3 separate regions of the Homo sapiens genome follow, and all the other regions are linked to region 1. Evidence: promoter capture Hi-C in 16 types of primary human blood cells and fetal thymus (Javierre and others, 2016). All regions are on one chromosome and are shown on one strand. The core of a region is centred on a gene start or on the middle of the fragment in contact, and the rest is flanking DNA. Distances in the headings are between cores, read along the strand shown. Region 1 holds the start of C4BPB (complement component 4 binding protein beta). Region 2 has its middle 47 kb from the start of CD55. Region 3 overlaps CD55 (CD55 molecule (Cromer blood group)).

What was found. Contacts are between HindIII fragments. The CHiCAGO score rates a contact against its expected background, and 5 or more counts as called.
Region 2: a fragment that was not itself captured here is called in contact with the fragment with the promoter of C4BPB in region 1 in 2 of 17 cell types (monocytes and naive CD4 T cells); the score reaches 6.6 in monocytes.
Region 3: a contact is called between a fragment that was not itself captured here and the fragment with the promoter of C4BPB in region 1, in 9 of 17 cell types (monocytes, total B cells, naive CD4 T cells and 6 more). The highest score is 11.9, in monocytes.

What each region holds. Positions count from the first base shown.
Region 1 is chr1:207,086,795-207,090,253 of GRCh38, forward strand. C4BPB (complement component 4 binding protein beta) reads left to right here and starts at 2,066. Exons shown (of 7, transcript NM_001017365.3): 1 at 2,066-2,152; 2 at 2,688-2,795. The coding sequence starts at 2,738. The HindIII fragment of the contact is 12,500 bases long and covers 63-3,459 here.
Region 2 is chr1:207,367,395-207,370,853 of GRCh38, forward strand. No RefSeq gene overlaps it. Among named protein-coding and RNA genes, the nearest start is that of CD55, 47 kb to the left of the region's middle. The HindIII fragment of the contact is 328 bases long and covers 1,775-2,102 here.
Region 3 is chr1:207,349,529-207,352,987 of GRCh38, forward strand. All of the region lies in intron 9 of CD55 (CD55 molecule (Cromer blood group)), which reads left to right. Among named protein-coding and RNA genes, the nearest start is that of CD55, 30 kb to the left of the region's middle. The HindIII fragment of the contact is 2,902 bases long and covers 229-3,130 here.

The DNA of each region.
Region 1 (3,459 bases), core at 816-3,315:
TACTGAAGAACATGCATTCCTCAAGAAGTAGAACATGGGGTATGTAAATAAAAATTATTCAAAGCTTAGGATTAGCAAAAAGAGATCACTGGAGTAAATGCTCAATGGATTCCTGGGCATTTTCTAGCAGGCCCTCTGGAGATGATCTCTGACTGACTTTATTTAAAGTTCTTTTAGAACTCTTTAAGCATAGAGGTTAATTTGCAGTAAATTTATAGGAATGCAAATGACTCTTATCTGAGAACAATGCAAATGATTCCTGGTTATAGTAGAGCAAATATATTTTGTCCATTTTGTTTTAATTACTTTCCACCAGGTAGAAAAGCTAATTGCAAATATTACAGTTTGTTACTCTGTAGGATATTAACCAGTTTTGTATCTATTGGAAAGGTCACTTCAGAATGCTTTTGACTGACTGACTATATGCATTCCTATTCCTCAAATTCTTCTTTGAACCAGTTGTAGCATCTGAATGTTTCCTCATTAATTAATGAGTTGAATTAAATCTTTGATATATATTCATCTTATATTTACTTGTGTCATATTTTTAACTTTTTGAAAATCATGTCTTAGAGGGTGCTTACACTATAGGAATTTGCATATTAGTTAAGAAAAGATAAGACATAAAAAATCATAAGGCAGCATGTGATAAATGGCAAGTGATCATATGGATTTTGGGGGCTGTGGTAGAGTTTCTGGATGACAGTTTTTTTCATTTATTTCTGCATTACTTTCATTCATTTAACAGACAACTGCTTTGCAATATGAAGCACCGTGGAAGGGAATACAAATACAAATCAGACACAAACCCTGTCCTGGAGTTAGCAGTTTCCTGTGGGAATAAAGGGGAGGAAAAAAACACCTTTCCTCTACCATATTGTATTCAGTGGCTGGGACCTGCAAATTAGACTAAGACAGATTAACAGGAGAGAAAATTCTATTTATACATGTAACTTGAGTACATGTGGGAAAACTCAGTGATAAGTAATTCAAAAAGTTGGTTAGAATTGGGGCTTATACATCATCTTAATAGGTGAAGGTGGGGAGAAGAAAGGCACTTACAAGAAAACAGATTATTGGCCGGGTGCGGTGGCTCATGCCTATAATCCCAGCACTTTGGGAGGCCAAGGCGGGTGGATCATTTGAGGTCAGGAGTTCAAGACCAGTTTGGCCAACATGGTGAAACCCCATCTCTACTAAAAATACAAAAATTAGCCAGGCGTGGTAGCGCATGCCTGTAATCTCAGCTACTCGGGAGACTGAGGCACAAGAATGGCCTGAACCTGGCAGGTGGAGGTTGCAGTGAGCCAAGATCATGCCAAGACACCATCTCAAACAAAAAAGAAAACAGATTATTTTTTGGAAAGGCAAGTGGGTTTTCAGGGGAAAAGTAGGAAATTAGAAAGTTTTGTGATAATGTTTGTGTATATAAGTACGAGTGTTCTTTCTGTCTCCTTCAAGGCCATGAAATTTCTCTGGAGAAGGAATTTGAAATATGTTTTACTCATGCTCTCCCCTCCAGGATAGACCTACCCTGAAAAGGAATTTATGGCAACCTTATCTCCAAGGTTGCTGCCTTTAGTCAGATAAGGAAAGCCCCCAAAATCTCTGTTCCTTTCCATATCACTGAATCTCAAATATCTTCAGCTTAAAAGAATCTTAACGCCAAATATTTGGGGGTGGCATATCCTGATTCCTTTCAGGAGAAAGACATAGATTAATCATCACAAACAGTAGTAATGGATGGAGAAGAGAAGAACATTTGCAACCTTACTGTGTCCTTAATGCTTTATTATTCTATTAAAACCTGAAATTTTGTAGGAATTTTTCCCCAGTTTCATAATTACAGCACAGAGAACCAACCAAGGGTTATAGTAGTCACAAGCAAGATGATATGGGATCCCTCAAAACAATTTTACATGCCTTAATTCCTGAGACCAAAGCATTCTCCTCACCTCTCTCTTTACTCATTTGGTTAACTCTGGACTCAGGCCAAATCCTGTCCCTGGAAGAGCCACAAAGTAGGAAGCCTGGGTACAGGCCTGGCAAGCGAGAACAATGTGTCACTGCAGGACTTTGGAGCTCTCAGCTTTGGAGTCAGTTAAGACCAGTTCCTTGCTGGGAAGCCCTAACTCTGGAGGGACAGAGACAGGTAAGGTTAGTTTACTTCCTTGAGCTTTCGTCTTCAGTGCTGCTTACAGCCTTAGGATATCTGGTATTCAGGAAAGGAGGATGAGGTAGCATTCAAAATTGTGTTCTACCTGGGCAAGAACCAGGGATTGACAGCCCGTTCTCTTTCCCCAGTGCTGGCCAGAGTTACAGAAGTTGGACTGTAAACATTGGCAACTATTGACAGAAGTCAAGGTCATGGCAAGACCATTTGGCCCATGTTTGTTGGGGAAGGATAAGCCTGCGTTTCAAAAAGACTGGTCAACTGGATTTGCATTCCCAGAAACCAGGAAATTTCTGAAACTGAGTTTTAAACCTGGCAACTCTTTTACCATCCCTTTGTATTTTTGCAGTTCCTCCCTATACCAGCTTCCTTACAGCTGTTCTGATTTCCTGTCGTAAGATTTTTTCTTTTCATTTTCTCCAGGGAGGGTAAATCAATATAACCTCTTCTCTAGAGAGGAGGTGGTTAGGTTGGTCTTAAGCAGTGTTAGAAGATCTATTTTTTTTCAAACCAGGTGTCTGAGCTGGGTGAATTCCAGCCTGGGGAGAGGACTTTGATCACCAGATGTTTTTTTGGTGTGCGTGCTGTCTTATGGTTGCGTGGCGAGTTTCTGCTTCAGATGGTACGTATGCTTTCCTTCAACTCAGCTTACAGGCATTTGGTGTCCTTTTGCGGTGTTTTGAGGAACTCTGTCTAGGGCTTTAAGGAAGTTTACATTTATAATATCTTTATTCTTCTATTGAAAAATCTCAAATTGGCCTAATGCTCTGCACTCAATAGGAGCTTAGTGTACATTTAATGATAACCCTGATCTCTGAAGTGGGTGGTTACTGTTTTTTTACTTTCCCTTTCTGTTCTGGGAGCAAAAAGAGTACCAATTTCAAAATCCTGGGAGGTCTTACTTGTTATAAACTCCAGGATCGCTATTTGTGTAGGGGACTATTTGTTTAGAAGTGGACAACTTGTGGTTGAATTTGAGTAAAATTCCTGTTATACTTTTGAAAATAAAACTTCGGAATTCCGGCCGGGCGCAGCGGCTCAAGCCTGTAATCCCGGCACTTTGAGAGGCCGAGGTGGGCGGATCACGAGGTCAAGAGATCGAGACCATCCTGGCTAAGACAGTGAAACCCCGTCTCTGCTGAAAATACAAAAAATTAGCTGGGCGTGGTGGCGGGTGCCTGTAGTCCCGGCTACTTGGGAGTAGAATACAGAGTACTTGGGAAGAGCACAGGAATCAGGATCAATAATCCAGCAAAAAGACATGAGAATGGGGAAATCTAATAAGG
Region 2 (3,459 bases), core at 689-3,188, 280 kb after region 1:
AGTGTGGTGGTGTGATCTTCGCTCACTGCAACCTCTGCCTCCTGAGTTCAAGCAATTCTCCTGCCTCAGCCTTCGGAGTAGCTGGGATTACAGGCAAGCACCACTACGCCTGGCTAATTTTTGTATTCAGATCCAGATTTCTAAATGTCTTTCTCCAGTTAAAAAAAAAATAGGGCTCCTGGGAGAAATGGCTGATTTCTGGGCTAGGGTAGGGAAAGTAAAAGATGAACCTGGAAATATCTTGTGGTATCACAAATTAAGTGTTCTGAAAATAAGTGCTGAAAAAATTATTGTGACATGTCAAATGGATTCAGAAGCCAACATGAACAAGCTCCCACTGACCAAATCTGAAACAATTACAGCAAATAAATAAATAAATAACGATGGCAATGGATCATAGCACATAGAATAAAATAAGAATTTGAGTCCATACTGATATAATTGAATAATAAAGAGAAGAAAGACACCTTCTTTATAGCAAGATTCCAATTACCTACATGTAGTAAAAATGATGCAATTAGAAAGTCAGCATTTGGCAACCATCACAGTAATAATTATTTCAGGCAAGAATCAATGAATGCTAAATCAGTAAAAGTCTGATGAGAAATAATTATATACTCTTCAATTTTTTCTCCACAAAATACTTAATTGCAAATAATAACTTTGCGGAAGAAAAACCTGACAGACACTATTTTAGCCAAGTGATCAAAACTAACATCACTGATATTGGGACAAATAACACCTAGTTCCTCCTGATAGGATACATTGAAAAGAACTCTGTCATTTCTGTGTGATTGTTGCCAAAAATCATAATCTGAATCAAAATATGAGGAAGTATCCGAAAAAAGACAACTTGACCGTCATCCTACAAAATACCTCTTCCAGAGTGGAAAGGTAGTGAAAATCAAGTAGAAGAAGGGAAATAGAAATTTAAAAAATTAAGAAATGAAATAATAAAGGTAAGTGTAAAAATTAAAATAGAAAACAAAAATAATAGTGAAAATGAAATCAAAAGCTGGGTCTTTAAAAAAAATAAAATTGATAAACTTCCATTTAGATGGGTAAAGAATAAAGAGATAAGACAGAAATTGCCACCCATGAACTTTTAGTAATGCAACAGAATACATCACTCACTGCAGAGCATAATCATTGGAAGAAAAATATGAGAATATGGCAGGCAACTTTATGCCAATAAATTCAATAAACTGGGGATCACGATTATGATCAACATTCACTTTTGAAAGGGCCATGGAGGAAAATGAACCAGGAAGATCCTCCCTGGGGCAGAGCTACCACTGGATGAAATGAACAATTCATTGAAAGACACAAATTACCAAAACTAACCCAATAAGCAATATAAAACTTGAATTGCCCTATTAATTCAAGAAATTGCATTTTTAATTAAAAATCTTTCCAAAAAGAAAAATTCATGCCTAAATGGCTTCACTTGTAAACTCTAGCATTTAAGGAAGAAATAAAACCAATTGTACACAAACTCTTTGAGAAAATAGAAAATACTTCCAAACTCATTTCATGAGGCCAAATATATTAAAAAACTACAGACAAATATCCCTCATGAATATAGACACAAATATACTTAACAAAATTTTAACAAAACAAATTAGTATATGTAAAAGAATACTTACTATACATCATGATGGAATGAGGTTTATCTGGGGAGTGAAAGGTTGGTTTGACATCCAAAAATTAATCAATGTAATTCACCATATTAGAATAAAGAAGAAAATATAATCATTTCAATAAATGCAGGAAAAGCTTTTTGTAAAGTTCAACACTAATTTGTGATTTCAAAAAATCTATCAGCAAACTAAGAATAAAAGAAACATTTCTCTTAATCTAATTAAGGGCATCTTCAAAAACCTACATCTTTCACTGTACTCAATATTGAAAGCCTCAATGCTTTCTACCTAAGATAAGGAACAAGGCAGGGATATCTATTCTGCCATTTCTGTTCAACATTATACTGGAAGTTTTAGCCAGTGCAGTAAGGCAAGAAAAAGAAATGACAGTCAATAAATTGGAAAGGGAGAAGAAAGTCGTTTTTATTGGTAGATGACATGACCAAGTATTAATACATAGAAAGCTTAAAGAGTCTACTAGAACTAATAAGTGAATTTATTGAGGTCAGAATACAATGTTAATGTATAAAAATTATAATTTTATGTATTAGCAATGAACAATTAGAAAATGAATTTCGAAAACAACTTCATTTCCAACAGCATCCAAAAACATGTTAGAGATAAATTTTACAAAACATGGAAGATAGTTTCTTTTCCTGTGCAGAAGCGCTTTAGTTTAATTAGATCCCATTTTTCATAAAAAAAGAATGAGATCATGTCCTTTGCAGGGACATGAATGAAGCTGGAAGCCAACATTCTCAGCAAACTAACACAGGAACGGAAAACCAAACACCACATGTTTTCACTCATAAGTGGGAGTTCAACAATGAGAACAGATGGACACAGGGAGGGGAACATCACACACCAGGGCCTGTCAGGGAGTGGGGGGCAAGGAGAAGGAGAGCATTAGGACAAATACCTAATACATGCGGGGCTTAAAACCTAGATGACAGGTTGATGGCTGCAGCAAACCACCATGGCACATATATGCCTATGTAACAAACCTGCATGTTCTGCACATGTATCCCAGAACTTAAAGTAACATTTTTTAAAAACGGAAGAATTCTATTTAAAAAAAAAAAACTATAAATTTTGCTGAGAGAAATTACAGACTTAAGTAAATGTTATTAACATCATTTTCGTGGGTTGGAACACTCAATATTGTTAAGATAGCAATTCTCCACACATCAATTTATAACTCCAATAGATATTTTTAAAAAGTGATTCCAAATTTATATTAAAATGAATTGCCTCTCTTAAACCTCCCTTATAATTTTTTTAAAAGATTTCAGAAGACTAAACACTATATTACACAGACTCCATTGAAGCTAGGAGTCTAGGAGAAAATTTGATCTACAACGTAACAAGCAGTTATGTGATATTTATTTGGAGGTCAGAATTAAGGTGTAGGTCAACTTCCTACTGCTGCTTCTATTTCCAGCAAGATAAGATCAGCCACAGGTGATTGTGGTGGTCTTTTTCTACTTTCATTTATCTAGTCATCAACTTTATGGGAATAAAAATCTGCGGTAGTGTGTCTGGAATTGCTGGGTTCTTGGTCTCGCTGACTTCAAGAATGAAGCCGCAGACCCTCACGGTGAGTGTTACAGTTCTTAAAGATGATGTGTCTGGAGTTTCTTCTTACTGGTGGGTTTGTGGTCTCGCTGACTTCAGGATTGAAGCTGCAGACCTTCACAGTGAGTGTTACAGCTCTTAAAGGCGGCGCGTCTGGAGTTGTTTGTTCCCTTCAGTGGGTTCGTGGTCTCGCTGGCCTCAGGAATGAAGCTGCAGACCTTCGTGGTGAGTGTTACAGCTCATA
Region 3 (3,459 bases), core at 430-2,929, 260 kb after region 1:
ATATTTTTCCATTTGTTTGTATTGTCTCTGTCTTCTTTGTTTTGTATTTCTCTATAGAGATCATTCACCTCCCTGGTTAGCTGTATTCATAGGTATTTTATCCTTTTGTGGCTATTGTGAATAGGATTGCATTCTTGATTTGGCTGTCAGCTTGACATTGTTGGTGTATAGAAATGCTTCTGATTTTTGTACCCCGAAGCTTTACTGATGTTGTTTAACAGTTCTAAAAGCTTTTGGGCAGACTATGGAGTATTCTAGGTTTAAACTCATATCATCTGTGAAGAGAGATAGTTTACTTCCTCTCTTCCTATATGGATGCCTTTTATTTCCTTGCCTGATTGCTGTGGCTAGGATTTCCAGTACCATGTTGAATAGGAATGATAATAATGGACATCCTTGTCTTGTACTGGTTTTCAAGGTGAATGCTTCCAGCTTTTGCTCATTCAGTATGATGTTGGCTGTGGGTTTTTCCTGGCGGCTCTTATTATTTTGTGGTATGTTCCTTTGATGCCTAGTTTGTTGATGACTTTTAACATGAAGGGATGTTGAATGTTGTCAAAAGCCTTTTCTACAACAATTGAGATGATCATGTGGTTTTTTTGTTTGTAGTTCTGTTTATGTGATGAATCACATTTATTGATTTGGATATGTTGAGCCAACCTTGCATCCCAGGAATAAAGCCTACTTGATCGTGGTAAGTTAGGTATTTGATGTGCTGCTGGATTTGATCTGCTAGTATTTTGTTGAGGATTTTTGCATTTACTTTCATCAGGGATGTTGGCCTGAAGTTTTCTTTTTTTGTCCTGTCTCTTTGCCAGATTTTGGTATCAGTGTGATGCTGGCCTTATAGAATGAGGAGTCCCTCCTCCTTGATTTTTGGCATAGTTTCAGTATGATTGGTACCGGCTCTTGTTTGTATGTTTGGTGGAATTTGTCTGTGAATCCATCTGGTACAGGGCTCTTTCTGGTTGGTAGGTTTTTTAAATTACTGATTCAATTTAAGAACTTGTTATTGGTCTGTTCAGGTATTTAATTTCTTCCTGGTTCAATCTTAGGAGGTTGTATTTTTCCAAGAATTTACCATTTCTTCTACGTTTTCTAGTTTATGTACATAGAGGTGTTCAAAATAGTCTCTGAGGGTGTTTTGTATTTCTGTGGGGTTGGTGGTAATGTCCCCTTTGTCATCTGAGATTGTGTTTATTTGGATGTTCTCTCTCTTTATTAATCTAGCTAGTTGTCTATCAATCTTATTTATTCTTTCAAAAAACCAGCTTTGGTTTTGTTGATCTTTTGTATGGATTTTTGCATCTCAATTTTATTCAGTTCAGCTCTGATTTTGGTTATTTTTTTTCTTCTGCTAGCTTTTGGGTTGGTTTGCTCTTGTTTTTTCTACATCCTCTAGAGGTGATGTTACTTTGTTAATTTGAGATTTTTCTAACATTTTGATGTAGGTGTTTAATGCTACAAACTTTCCTCTTGACATTGTTCTGGCTGTGTCCCAGACACTCTGGTATGTTGTATCTTTGTTTTCACTAGTTTCAAAGAATTTCTTGATTTCTGCCTTAATTTTCAGAATGCCAAAAGTCATTCAGGATTAGGTTGTTTAATTTCCATGTTATTGTATAGTTTTAAGAGATCTTCCTGGTATTGATTTATATTTTATGCTGTGGCCTAAGAGTATGGTTAGTATGATTTTGGTTTTTTGAATTTGTTTAAAATTGCTTTATGGTTGAGCATGTGGTCAATCTTAGAGTATGTGCTATGTGCAGATGAGAAGAATGTATATCCTGTTGTTCTTGGGTGTAATGTTATGTAGATGTCTGTTAAGTCCATTTGGTCAAGTGTCAAGTTTAGGTCATGAATATCTTTGTTAGTTTTCTGCCTTGATTATGTGTCTAACATTGTCAATGGGGTGTTGAAGTCTCCCACTATATTGTGTGGTTATTTCCATCTCTTCATAGGTCTTTAAGAACTTGTCTTATGAATCTGGATGATCCAGTGTTGGATCTGAAAAGAGTAATAAAAACATTATCATTACTATCATTATTATTTATTGTGGTTATTTTATATTTTGAATGAACTTCTAAGCTAAAAGATTTATCTTGAAAGATTCCAACTGTTGGAATTCACTTTGTTTTAAATAGAAATAAATGTGTTTCAAATGAAAGTCTGATGATTTAATGATCACAAAAGTGATGAGTTTAATAAATGAGTTTTTTCTCACCTGCTCAATGGCACTCAATGAAGGTTTGAAATGCCTTTTTTTCCTGAAATTCTTTAAGTATTATACCCTTTGATTTTCTAGAAAACTTTCCTTAGTCGGCATTCCAGCTTGTGTTAAAAAATAAAGAGGAAGTCCTTCCTTCTTAAACTGGACATATGGCAACATTTTTTGTGTGTGATTTCATATTTGTAGGACATAAACCTGAAAATTATATTCATTAAATTTATTATGTGAATGAGGTTACTCTTCTTTAAAGATAAATTAACTCTACTGCAAGAAAATTGTTTCATCAATTACACTGCAATGTAAGTAAAATGATACAGATGATCTTTGAATTTTGGAAGTATTTGATTTTTTTTTCCTATTCTGCTAAGGAAGAAAGACTGACTAATGTTACAGAACTTTCTAATTTGCCTTGTAAATGAAGCATGTGTTGTGAATTTTAAATCTTTTCTTCCGTTGGCTTTGTATAAGTGTTTCCCAATTTTTTTTTGTGGGGGGTGGGGGGTGCGTTAATTCTTGCTCTCTTCTCACCAAAGACCTTTTTAGACATTTTTTTTTGATCATCCTCCACCACACATATACTGTAAATCAGTTTATGTATCACATATATATCTGCACTCTGTACTTAAAAAAGGAAAATTTTTTTTTAACTTTCATCAGGTATCACCCCCATTGAGAATGCTTGCTTTCTGTTGGTTTTGTTTTTATTGTTTTTAAAGACAAAATCATATAGAAGAAAGAGCTTAACCTCTGGAGTCAAACCAGTCGGATGTTGGTTTGAATCCTGTTTTTTTCACTTAGTAATTATTCAACCCAAGTGATTAAGTGATTAACTTAATCTCTCTGAGACTCAGTTTTCTCATTTAAGAGATAGAGATTGTGATTCCTATGTGAAGTATTTGAAGCTTAATGTGATTAGTGGGTATGAAAACTCCAAGCACAGTCCTAAAAGTTGAATAAATATTAGCTTAAGGAAGTCACTGCATGCAATCACTATTATTTTCCTAAGCTGGATTTCTGATAATTTCATCACTCCCTCTGGCCACACCAAAGAATAAGAACAGTCTTTTATTCAGGTAATATTTACATGTTTTCTCTGTGGCAAGTACTGTACTGATTTTTTTTAATGTATTATTTCATATTCTTCTCACAACAATCTTATAATGTAGCATTTTTATCCCATTTTCAGCTAAGATAACTGTGGTTTTGCAAAATTTGTAACTTGCCTTTCA